Regions from separate parts of the Homo sapiens genome. Here region 1 is linked to region 2. The links are contacts of gene promoters, found by promoter capture Hi-C in human tissues and cell types (Jung and others, 2019). All regions are on one chromosome and are shown on one strand. The core of a region is centred on a gene start or on the middle of the fragment in contact, and the rest is flanking DNA. Distances in the headings are between cores, read along the strand shown.

Region 1 (5,359 bases), core at 2,610-5,109, 1.9 Mb before region 2:
TTTTGCAAGTTTATTTTTTTTTTAAAGCAAAGGTATTTTAAAGGACAAGTAACAAGGGACAGAGTAACTATTAAATTAATTATCTTCTTTTAAAGTGCCAACAAAAAAAATCCATGACATAATTATATTGACAAGAGTTACATGACCTTCTAAAAAAAGAAAGTATTCAGCTGGGTGTTGTGGCTCACGCCTGTAATCCCAGCACTTTGGGAGGCCAAGGCAGGTGGATCACCTGAGGTCAGGAGTTCGAGCACCTGTAATCCCAGCTACTCGGAAGGCTGAGGCAGGAGAATCACTCCAACCAGGGAGGCAGAGGTTGCAGTGAGGTGAGATCGCGCCACTGCACTTGAGCCTGGGTGACAAGAAAATTCGTCTCAAAAAAAAAAAAAAGAAAGTAATCTAAGTAAACAGGTAGCAATAATTTAATCTCAATTCTCTCTCTCAGTTTGAAAGACCACTTCTTTTTTTTGTTTGTTTGAGACAGGGCCTCCCTCTGTCACCCAGGTTGGAGTGCAGTGTTGCCATCTCAGCTCACTGTAACCTCCACCTCACCCAGCTGAAAGCCTGCTTCTTTACTCCAGTATTTCTGTCCTTCAGATTCTCAACTACCACAATTTCAATCCTAAATGTTATGTAGATGTTGACCAAGCAAATTGTAACTGACTTAAAATTTAACTTTTACTACAAAATCACCTCCACTGTGGTAATCTAACACAGAATAATGCTAATATTTCAGATCTCACTTTACTCATGCTGTCGTGGCTCATTTATGTCACATTACTCATAAATGTCGTGGTGGTGCATGCCTGTAGTCCCAGCTACTTGGGAGGCTGAGGTGGGAGGATTTCTTGAGCACAGGAGGTTGAGGCTGCAGTGAGCCAAGATCACGCCACTACACTCCAGTCTAGGCGACAGAGTGAGACCCTGTCTTCAAAAAAGAAAAAAAAAAAGAAAAATTCCAGGACCACGTGTGGTGGCTCATGCCAGTAATCCCAGCACTTTGGTTTGGGAGGCCAAGGTGGGTGGACGGCTTCAGCTCAGGAGTTCAAAACAAGCCTGGGCAACATGGTGAAACCTCACTGCTACAAAAAACACAAAAATTAGCCAGGAATGGTGGCGCATACCTGTAATCCCAGCTACTCGGGAGGCTACGGCAGGAGAATTGCTTGATCTGGGAGATGGAGGCTGCAGTGAACCGAGACTGCACCACTGCACTCCAGCCTGGGCAACACAGTGAGACTCCGTGTCAAAAAAAAAAAAAAAAAAAAAGAAATTGCCCACAGGCTTTTCACCAACCAAATATTTAGGTGGGGAAAACTCCAGGCTCCTCCAAAAAAAAAAGAGAGAGAACTCCATTTCATACTAAATGTTCTAGGTGCAGATTTAAATGAAAATTTAATTTTTAATTATCTCAAAGTTAAATACCCAAATTCTACTTGAAAAAGTGGGCCGGGCACGGTGGCTCACGCCTGTGATCCCAACACTTTGGGAGGCTAAGGTGGCAGATCACAAGGTCAAGAGTTCGAGACCAGCCTAATCAACATGATGAAATCCTGTCTCTACTAAAAATACAAAAATTAGCTGGGCGTGGTAGCATGCGCCTATAATCCCAGCTACTCAGGAGGCTGAGGCAGGAGAATCGCTTGAACCCAGGAGGCGGAGGTTGCAGTGAGCCGAGATCGCGCCACTGCACTCCAGCCTGAGAGACAGAGCGGGACTCAAAAATAAAAATAAATAAATGAAAGAAAGAAAAAGTGCTGATCTTGTTCCAAGGGGACAATATTTCTTTTCTTTTCTTTCTTTTTTTTTTTTTTTGAGAGTCTTGCTGGAGTGCAGTGGCGCGATCTCGGCTCACTGGATTACAGGCGCCCGCCACCATGCCTGGCTAATTTTTTGTATTTTTAGTAGAGATGGGGTTTCACCGTGTTAGCCAGGATGGTCTCGATCTCCTGACCTCGTGATCCGCCCGCCTCGGCCTCCCAAAGTGAGGAGGATTATTTGAGTCCAGGAGATTGCAGCGAGCCATGATCACGCCACTGCCCTCCAACCAGCCTGGGTGTAATCCCAGCTGTAATCCCAGCTACTCGGGAGGCTAAGGCAGAACTGCTTGATCTGGGAGATGGAGGCTGCAGTGAACCGAGACTGCACCACTGCACTCCAGCCTGGGCAACACAGTGAGACTCCGTGTCAAAAAAAAAAAAAAAAAAAGAAATTGCTCACAGGCTTCTCACCAACCAAATATTTAGGTGGGGAAAACTCCAGGCTCCTCCAAAAAAAAAAGAGAGAGAACTCCATTTCATACTAAATGTTCTAGGTGCACATTTAAATGAAAATTTAATTTTTAATCATCTCAAAGTTAAATATCCGAATTCTACTTGAAAAAGTGGGCCGGGCACTTTTTCAAAAAAAATTTTTTTAAAGGTCATGCACAGTGGCTCACGCCTGTAATCCCAGCACTTTAGGAGGTCAAACCGGGAGGATAGCTTGAGCCCAGCAGTTCAAGACCAGCTTAGGCAACCTATTAAGATCACGTATCCACAAAAAATTTTACAAATTAGCCAGGTGTGGTGGTACGTGCCTGTGGTCCCAGCTACTTAGGAGGCTAAGAAAGGAGGATCACTTGAGCCCAGAAAGTCGGGGCTGCAGTTAGCTGTGATCGCCGCCACTGCACTCCAGCCTGGTGACAGCAACTTTGTCCCGCCCACCAAAAAAAAAAAAAAAAAAAATTTCCTCCAGAGCCAAAGTCACATGTTCAGGGGACCTAACAACCAACCATCCTGGGCTTGCCCACCACGCACAGAACACGTAAGTTTTAGTGAGTCTGAAGACGTTTACTCCAGATATGATCACTAGCGCTGAATTCAGGTCATTTACTAACTACACCTCCGAAGAAAAACGACTTGGCACAAAACTAGAAATCAGCAATTTCGTTTCAAAATCCTACACTTTGTATCTGTCTTTTCTAATACGGTGACCACTAGCCACATGTGGTTATTTAAATTTAATTACACTTAAAAAGTAAGTAAAATTTAAAATTTAGTTTCTCAGGTGCACTAGCCTACAGGTCAAATGCTTAACGGCCACGTGTGGCTAGTAGCTACCATGCTGAACAGCAAAGGTAAAGAACATGTCGCTATGACAGAAAGTTCTATGGGACCAGGCAATGAACAGTACTAAGGAGAAGTCATCCAAGAACGCGGCTGCCCAACCAGCTTCTGGCGAGGCGGCGGCACAGCTCCGGGGCCGCACATCCCTAGGGGCGCCGCGGGCTCCGGGATATTCGCGCGGACGCGGAGCCCGCGAGCTGGGGATACCCTCCACAGGCGGGCGTTAAACCGCGCGGGCAGCGCTGCGAGAGCTCCCAAAGATGACTCGAGTGGTGAGCCCCGAGGCGGCGCGTTTCCCCGCCGCGCCAGACAGGGAGAGAGGGCCTAGATGTGCCGGCGCCGGTTGGTCAGAGGCGGTGGCCTCTGACCTTTCCGAGAGCTGAGAAGGCGGCGGGAGGAAAAAAGGCAGACACACGCTGGGCGCCCGGCCGCTGACGGCGGGTAATGCTCGGACAACGTGCCGGCGACGGGGAGCGCCCGGGCCTCCCGGGCGACGGCGAAGGCGGAGTCCCGGCCCGGCCAGGGAGGCGCGCGGAGAGGCCCCCCCAGCGGCCAGCCAAGGTAAACAAGGCCGTGACGTGCGCCGCGCACTTACCGGGAGCTGCGGCCTCGCGGCCGCTGAGCCCGAACAAGCCAGACCGGGTCAGGCCGGGCCAGAGGGACCGGATTGGGGCGAAGCGGCAGCGGAGGCGGCGGGCCGACGCCGGTCAAGCCCGCGCTGCTTCCTCCAGAAGAGTCGTCCCCACAGCTCCGGAAGTGCTTGGCGCCGTTGCGTCACTTCCGGATCGGGGTCGACCCACGGTCGCTCGGGTCGCGACAGGCTCCCGGCTAGAGGGCCTGTTTAGCGCCGCCTCCTTGAAACTTAGCGCTCTGACCCAGAGTCTGACCAGGGTACGGCAGGCGCCGACCGCGTCTGGAGCCACTATTCGCCTACCAGCGTCTCCCGTCGAGATGTTTTTAACCAGCGCGTTTCTCACCGGCTTCTCATTTCACTGTTTGTACTCCGGGATCGGGCACGGAGAAGACATCCTGGCGTCAGTGGAGCAGATAACCATTGTTTCTCGGCCGCTATCTGGTCAGAGGGGAGCTGGGCCGGGAAATTCTGCCTACACCCCGAGGCGGTCGCAGGGTGGCCCCAGAGCCGCAACCACACCAGGCTTTCGCTTCCCCTGCCGAGGCCTCGTTCGCCGCGCAGTTCTCCGACTTACGGTCACCGTGCAAGATTGCATCTTAACTGCCTTGCTTGCAGTTTCTTTTCACAGTATAGGAGTTGTCATCATGACTTCCAGTTACCTTCTGGGACCGGTTGTCAAATGATGTGGCTAGAGACGGAGGCTCACTCAGATTGTTGCTGCACCACAATGGAAATGCCAGTATGAAGCCGCTGATGTTAGGAAGGCTCCAGGTTGTGCAATTCCATAGACAACAAATCAAATCATTTCCAACCATACTGGAGTCGCGTATATACATATTCAAGACACCTGTGCAGGCCGGGCGCGGTGGCTCAAGCCTGTAATCCCAGCACTTTGGGAGGCCGAGGCGAGTGGATCACGAGGTCAGGAGATCGAGACCATCCTGGCTAACACGGTGAAACCCCGTCTGTACTAAAAGTACAAAAAAATTAGCCGGACGTGGTGGCGGGCGCCTGTAGTCCCAGCTACTCGGGAGGCTGAGGCAGGAGAATGGCGTGAACCCGGGAGGCGGAGCTTGCAGTGAGTCGAGATGGCGCCACTGCACTCCAGCCTGGGCGACAGAGCGAGACTCTGTCTCAAAATAAAATAAAATAAAATAAAAAATAAAACAAATAAAGACACCTGTGCTGGCTGGTCGCTGTGGCTCATGCCTGTAATCCCTGCACTTTGGGAAGCCGAGGTGGGAGGATCGCTTGAGCCCAAGAATTTGATGTAGTGAGACCCCCCTCCTTTCTACAAAAAAATTAAAAATTAGCTGGGCGAGGTGGCACACACCTGTGCATCCCAGCTACTCAGGGGGCTGAGGTGATATAGGATCGCTTGAGCCGAGGAGGTCGAGGCTGCAGAGTGCCAAGATCGCACCACTGCAGTCCAGCATCGGTGATAGAAGGAGACCCTGTCTCAAAACAACAATAACAAACCATACAATGTAGAAAGCCATTAAAAATCATGCCGCGTGGCCGGGCACCGTGGCTCACGCCTGTAATCCCAGCACGTTGGGAGGCCGGAGCCGGCAGATCACGAGGTCAGGAATTCGAGACTGGCCTGACCAGCATGGTG
Region 2 (5,792 bases), core at 3,252-5,751:
GTCTCGATCTCCTGACCTTGTGATCTGCCCGCCTCGGCCTCCCAAAGTGCTGGGATTACAGGTGTGAGCCACCGTGCCCGGCCAGGGCTGTGTCAGTTTTACAGGCAGGAAGCAGAGGCTCAGAAGTCGAGTTCGATCTGAGTTATACCAAAGAGGGACTCTACTCCATGCCTGGCCTCCTGCTGGGGCCTGGACCTCTCACAACCTGAGCGGACTGAAGAGGCTGTGGTCCTTCTGGCCTGGACTCCAGGTCCGTGGAAGACAGTGGGCCAGCCTCCTTATGGAGGGCCAGCGTGTCTGAGCATGAATTCCCCCCACTGACAAACTGTTCAGGGCACACAATGGTCCATTGTGCCCAGGGCACACCTGAGCCAGGAGCATGATGCCAGGCAGGTGCAGGGAGGGAGGTGCTGGGTGAAGGGGAGGGGAGTGTTACCCTGGGATCCCTCCCTGCTGTGGGTACAGAAGGAAAATGGGGGACTATGTGTGTGAGACGGTGTGAGTGATACCAGGTTCTCAGCTGATGGGACACCCACGTCTGAGTCACTCCCCTCACCTTCTGACTCCACCTGAAGTATTTTCTGAGATGGGTGGGGAGCTCAGGAGGAACGGGCCTCCCTCCAACCTTTTCAGACATCCCTCAGGGCCTCAAGGACCCACCCTCACCCTGGGCATCCAGAGGAAAACCTTTTCTTCTGCTCCTAGAGAGGTCCTGGGTCTACCCCTCAGAATGGGGGTGGGGTGGGGTGGGTCATTTCAAGTCAGGGAAGAGCTTATCACAGCCTGTTCGCTGGGGTGTGGGGGGATGCAACTCAAGAAGGACCTGAAGTGGGAGCATTCCCCTTCCACACACCTCCCTACCTTGGCCCACACCCCCAGACCCGTTGGCCACGACCACCCAATCAGGCCGCGCCCAAGGGAGAGGCAGCTCATAGACAAATTGAGTCCCCCTCCCCCTAGCCTCCTGGCCAGTCTCCAGGTCTCTCCAGGTCTCAGTTTCCCCATTTGTAAAAAGGCCAAGTGTCCGGCCGCCTCGGCCCAGGCCACTCTCCTCTAGCAAGAAAGACTCAGGCTGCACGGTCCTGCTCGCGGGGGTGGGTTGCTATGAAGTGCACGACCGCGAGCTCTGTCCCCAAGGCATAAGTGCCAGAGGCACCCGGCGGGCTGGGGGCACACACGTGTGTGCGGAGCCGGAGCATGCCCTGCGCGCGCGCGCCCGCGCGCGCGGCTACGCGGCCCCAGCGGCGCGGGGCGCCAGGTGCAGCAGGCGCGGGGCGCGCGAAGCTGGGGGCACCGCGGGTGCGGGTGCGGGCGCGGGGCGGGGCGGGCTCACCTGCGCGTAGTAGAGCAGCCACAACTCGTACAGCCGCTCCGAGGCGGCCATGGCCCGGCCCGGCTCCGGCCCTGCTGCGCGCCACCTGTCGCCGCCTCCTCCGCGCCGCCCGCCGGTTGCCCTCGGCCAGGCCCATGGGCGGAGGGCGTCACTCCGGGGCGGAGCGGCGCGGTACTACTGGGGAAGTCTGCGGCTGTGGCCTCCGCGGCGCAGAGCCACCCAAGTCTGCTCGCTCCTCCTCCTCACTGCCGGCCGCCGCCCAGCTTCCTGCACTTCGCTGCAGTCACCGCCGCCCCGCCTCTCCTGGGACCATGTAAAGGGCGGAGAGCCTGGCAGGAGGAGGGGCCTATGGGCCGGGCGGCCCGGGAGGGTGCCCCGCTGCCCTGCCCCACCAGTGCCATTGGAAGGGCCAGCCTGAGCCTCCGGGACGAGGGTCGGGGTGAGGAATTCCAGACTTCCCCAGGGTCTGAATCCGCCCAGGACGCTGCTCGCCTGACTGCATTTGCCGCCATTCAGGGAAGGGGCGGCGGGCCGCGTGGAGGTGGCGAGGGTCCTTCAACAATAATCTCCACCACCACCATGACGACCCCTTGTAGCGCTTATCAAATGCCAGGTGCTACTCTGTCGCTTTATGGGAAGACCGAAACGCAACTTTTGAGCTCTAGCTGTTTGTGGAGTGTGATGGCGGGAAGTTAGAGAGTAGCAGGACTAGCCTGAAATACCTTCGGGGCCGCGGTGCCCTCCCAGATCCCAGAGAGGCTTAGACCGTTGCCACGGGTCCCCCTCCCTCCTCCAGGAAGCCTTCCCAAACGCTCCAGTGGAGGGGCTCCCCCCATTCCCCAACTCCAGGGCCCAGAACTTGCTTCACATATGTTGTTTCTTTAACCTCAACAGGTGGGTGCCTCATGGCTCTGTTTTTTGTTTGTTTTTGAGACAGAGTCTCACTCTGTCGCCCAGGCTGGAGTGCAGTGACTCGATCTCGGCTCACTGCAATCTCCGCCTCCTGGGTTCAAGTGATTCTCCTGCCTCAGCCTCCTGAGTAGCTGGGACTACAGGCGCGTGTCACCAGGCCCAGCTAATTTTTTGTATTTTTAGTAGAGACGGGGTTCCACCGTGTTAGCCAGGATGGTCTGGATTTCCTGACTTCATGATCCACCCGCCTCGACCTCCCAAAGTGCTGGGATTATAGGCATGAGCCACCGCACCCGGCCGGCTCTGTTTTACAGATGGAGAAACTGAGGCCCAAGTTGACCAAATGAGGACCACTTGGGCAGCAGGGGCAGGGACCCAGGCTTGACTGACTCTTTTTTGGGTCCCTGCCACCATCACCCCGTGCCCCCTTCCCCATCCCCTTACCTCACAGTCTGGACACGGGGAAAGGGGCACGGGGTGATGGTGGCAGGGACCCAACCCCTGGTGTTGGGCAGGGATCAGGCTCTTTGTTGGGGCTGGGGAGAAGTTTTCTGGGCCCAGAGGGGTGCTACTCGTTCCAGGAGTTGACCAGTCTGGAGACTCCTAGACCTTGGTTGGCCAAGACAACAGAGACCCTGTCCTGTTTTGTTCTCCCAGCTTCTTGGTTCACCTCTGGCCTTTTGTCCTGCTTCATCCATCATAGCTCTGAGCTGAGGTTTCCTGAGCACCTCCAAACTGCATGCCAGGCCTTGGCAGAGCAACCCATCCACTACAGGGAAGAAGGCTTAGACAGACCCAGGTTAGTGAGGACAAGAGGGTTAGTGAAGGGAGGGCTAGATCTGCAGTCTGTGGCCCATGGGCCTCTGAAGGGAGTTGGAAGGGGAAGAGTGGATGTCCACCTGTAGCCAGCTTGGGAAGGGAAGACTCAGGGAGGGAACAGCCTAAGAGGCTAGTTGTCCCCTGGCAGTGGAGGTGGAGAGGGGGCGGCATGGTCTCCTATTCCCAAGTGAGAGGGGGTGTGGCTTTGGGGACCCCCACATACTGAAAGAATATCTTGACTTCAGCCTAAGTGGTCTCGCGGTTATCAGGACACTCTAGTTCATGCAGGAAAGAAGACTCTGGCAGCTTCTGCTGGGTAGCCATGAATCTTGTGGCGACTTGCAGTCGAGGCCACCCCAAGTCTTTCTAAGCTGGGGATTGGGGGCAGTACTTGAGGCCCACTGGACCCAGGTTGGGGTTTGCTCTTCCCCGGGAAAGGTAACTTGACCCTGAGGACTTTGCTGCTCCAGGAGGGGATGGGAATGAGAGGGGATCATCTTTGAGTCCAGAGGGAAACAGCCATACAGTCAGGTCCCCCTCACTGTGCAGGCTTTGTCTGAGCTGAGAGTGGTCACAGAGGGGCTTAGGGGCGCTTGTCAGGTGAGTCCGGGGAGCCACTGACAGCTGCAGAGGTGTAAGTCATACCTTGTATTAGGGTGGGATCGAAGTGGAGGATCAGGGAAGGCTTTTTTTTTTTTTTTTTTTTTTTTGAGACGGAGTCTTGCTCTGCTGCCAGGCTGGAGTGCAGTGGCACGATCTCGGCTCACTGCAACCTCCGCCTCTCTGGTTCAAGCGATTCTCCTGCCTCAGCCTCCCGAGTAGCTGGGATTACAGGCACGCGCCACCACGCCCAGTTAATTTTTGTATTTTTAGTAGAGATGGAGTTTCACCATGTTGGCCAGGATGGTCTCCATCTCCTGACCTCGTGGTCCGCCCTCCTCGGCCTCCCAAAGTGCTGGGATTACAGGCGTGAGCCACCGCGCCCGGCCCAGGGAAGGTTTCTTGAAGGCATTCGAGCCTTGTCAGGTCAAGTGGACAAGGATGAGTCAGGGCATTCCAAGAGGCCAGCATGGAGTGATTAGTGTGGTTAGTACTTGGGCAAAACCGGAGCGATCGACGCACTCTTTTCTCCTTCTCTCAGGTCTGAATTCCACTTGCTGCTCTTTCACTGATCAGCGTTGGATAAATCGAGCCTTAGCTTTTTTTTTTTTCTTTTTTTTTTTTGCTGGCTCCCCACCCACTAGGCAAGTTGTCCGGAAGAATAAGGGCGGGGCGGGGCGGGGCGGGGCAAGGCGGGGAGGGCTCGCCCATAATAACCCCGCATTGATTGGCTTTCAGGACCTCCCAGTCTCTCATTCTCGTCCTTGGATTGGCCGCGAGACATTTATCCACTCTCCTTAGGCCTGCGCGATGCAAGACGGGAGAAAAGGAGGGGCGTACGCGGGCAAGATGGAGGCAACTACGGCTGGTGTGGGCCGGCTAGAGGAAGAGGCGTTGCGGCGAAAGGAACGGCTGAAGGCCCTACGGGAGAAAACCGGGCGCAAGGTGAGAAGTGTGGAGTGAGGGTCGCAGTTGAGGCGTCCAGCGTTCGGGGTCCGGGTCGCGCTTGAGGAGAGCAAAGGGCTAATAAGGAAAGACAGCTGCCGAGGGCGCGCATGCGCGGGCGCTAACGCATGCGCGAGAAGACGGCGCCCTCCCACGATGTCTGGGGCTGCTTGGCGTGGGACTCCTCTGGCGCTGGTGCGGTCGTCGCGCATGCGCGGGGGTGGGCAAGGCAGTGGTCAGCGACCCGCAGTCCATCTGACTCCTGCTTCCCGGGTGTTGCTCGTGTAGGTATCTAGGGCTGCCTGTAGGTTCAGATGCTTGTTGGGTTAGGCGTGATTTGTTCCGTTCCTCTATGGCCTAGCTGGTCTTTAACCCCCGCCTTCGATTCTGAGTCAGACAGACTCCCCAGTCCGGCAGCACTCCTTGGACAGGGCAGCAAGTGACAGCAGTGGGTATACAGCCGGAGTCGTTTCGTGCAAAAATCAAAAAGAGGCCGGGCACGGTGGCTCACGCCTGTAATCCCAGTGCTTTGGGAGGCCGAGGCAGGCGGATCACTTGAGGTTAGTAGTTCGAGACCAGGCTGGGTAACATGGTGAAACCCCGCCTCTACTAAAAATACAAAAATTAGCCGGGCGTGGTGGTGCGCGCCTGTAATCCCAGCTTCTCGGGAGGCTATGGCAGGAGAACCGCTTGAGCCTGGGAGGCAGAGGTTGTAGTGAGCCGAGATCTCGCCACTGTACTCCAGCCTGGGCAACAGAGCGAGACTCCGTCTCAAAAAAAAAAAAAAAAAAAAAATCGAAAATAAAAGATTTAGCCGGGCGCGGTGGCTCACGCGCCCAGTACTTTGGGAGGCCGAGGTGGGCGGATCACGAGGTTAGGAGATCGAGACCATCCTGGCTAACACGGTGAAACTCTGTCTCTACTAAAAATACAAAAAAATTAGCCGGGCGTGGTGGCGGGTGCCTGTGGTCCCAGCTACTTGGGAAGCTGAGGCAGGAGAATGGCGTCAACCCAGGAGGCGGAGCTTGCAGTGAGCCGAGATCCTGCCACTGCACTCCAGCCTGGGCGACAGAGCGAGACTCCGTCTCAAAAAAAAAAAAAAAAAAAAAAGAAAAGATTTATTTCTAACTAAGGGTGGGCCTTAGAAATTGGGAACGAGGGCCGGGCACAATGGCTGGTGCCT

Evidence for each region. The method cuts DNA at HindIII sites, captures the fragments that hold promoters and counts their contacts. A contact is called where the count stands out against the background at its distance.
Region 1: a contact is called between the fragment with the promoter of ARIH2 here and the fragment with the promoter of CCDC12 in region 2, in 1 of the 25 tissues and cell types used here (small bowel).

Annotation. Positions count from the first base shown.
Region 1 is chr3:48,917,342-48,922,700 of GRCh38, reverse strand. ARIH2 (ariadne RBR E3 ubiquitin protein ligase 2) reads right to left here and starts at 3,859. Exons shown (of 16, transcript NM_006321.4): 1 at 3,703-3,859. It overlaps ARIH2OS (ARIH2 opposite strand lncRNA), which reads left to right and starts at 3,316. Exons shown (of 1, transcript NR_161301.1): 1 at 3,316-4,913. RefSeq lists enhancers at 545-1,045, 2,729-3,479, 3,480-4,231, 3,957-4,426, 4,232-4,982 and silencers at 3,537-3,616, 3,687-3,786. The HindIII fragment of the contact is 21,005 bases long and covers 1-5,359 here.
Region 2 is chr3:46,975,454-46,981,245 of GRCh38, reverse strand. It overlaps CCDC12 (coiled-coil domain containing 12), which reads left to right and starts at 4,501. Exons shown (of 7, transcript NM_001277074.2): 1 at 4,501-4,609. The coding sequence starts at 4,514. It overlaps NBEAL2 (neurobeachin like 2), which reads right to left and starts at 1,580. Exons shown (of 54, transcript NM_015175.3): 1 at 1,334-1,580. The coding sequence starts at 1,384. RefSeq lists enhancers at 1-525, 3,209-3,909, 4,479-4,788, 4,613-5,314, 5,315-5,792 and 1 more and silencers at 1,224-1,563, 1,664-1,853, 4,249-4,388. The HindIII fragment of the contact is 31,501 bases long and covers 1-5,792 here.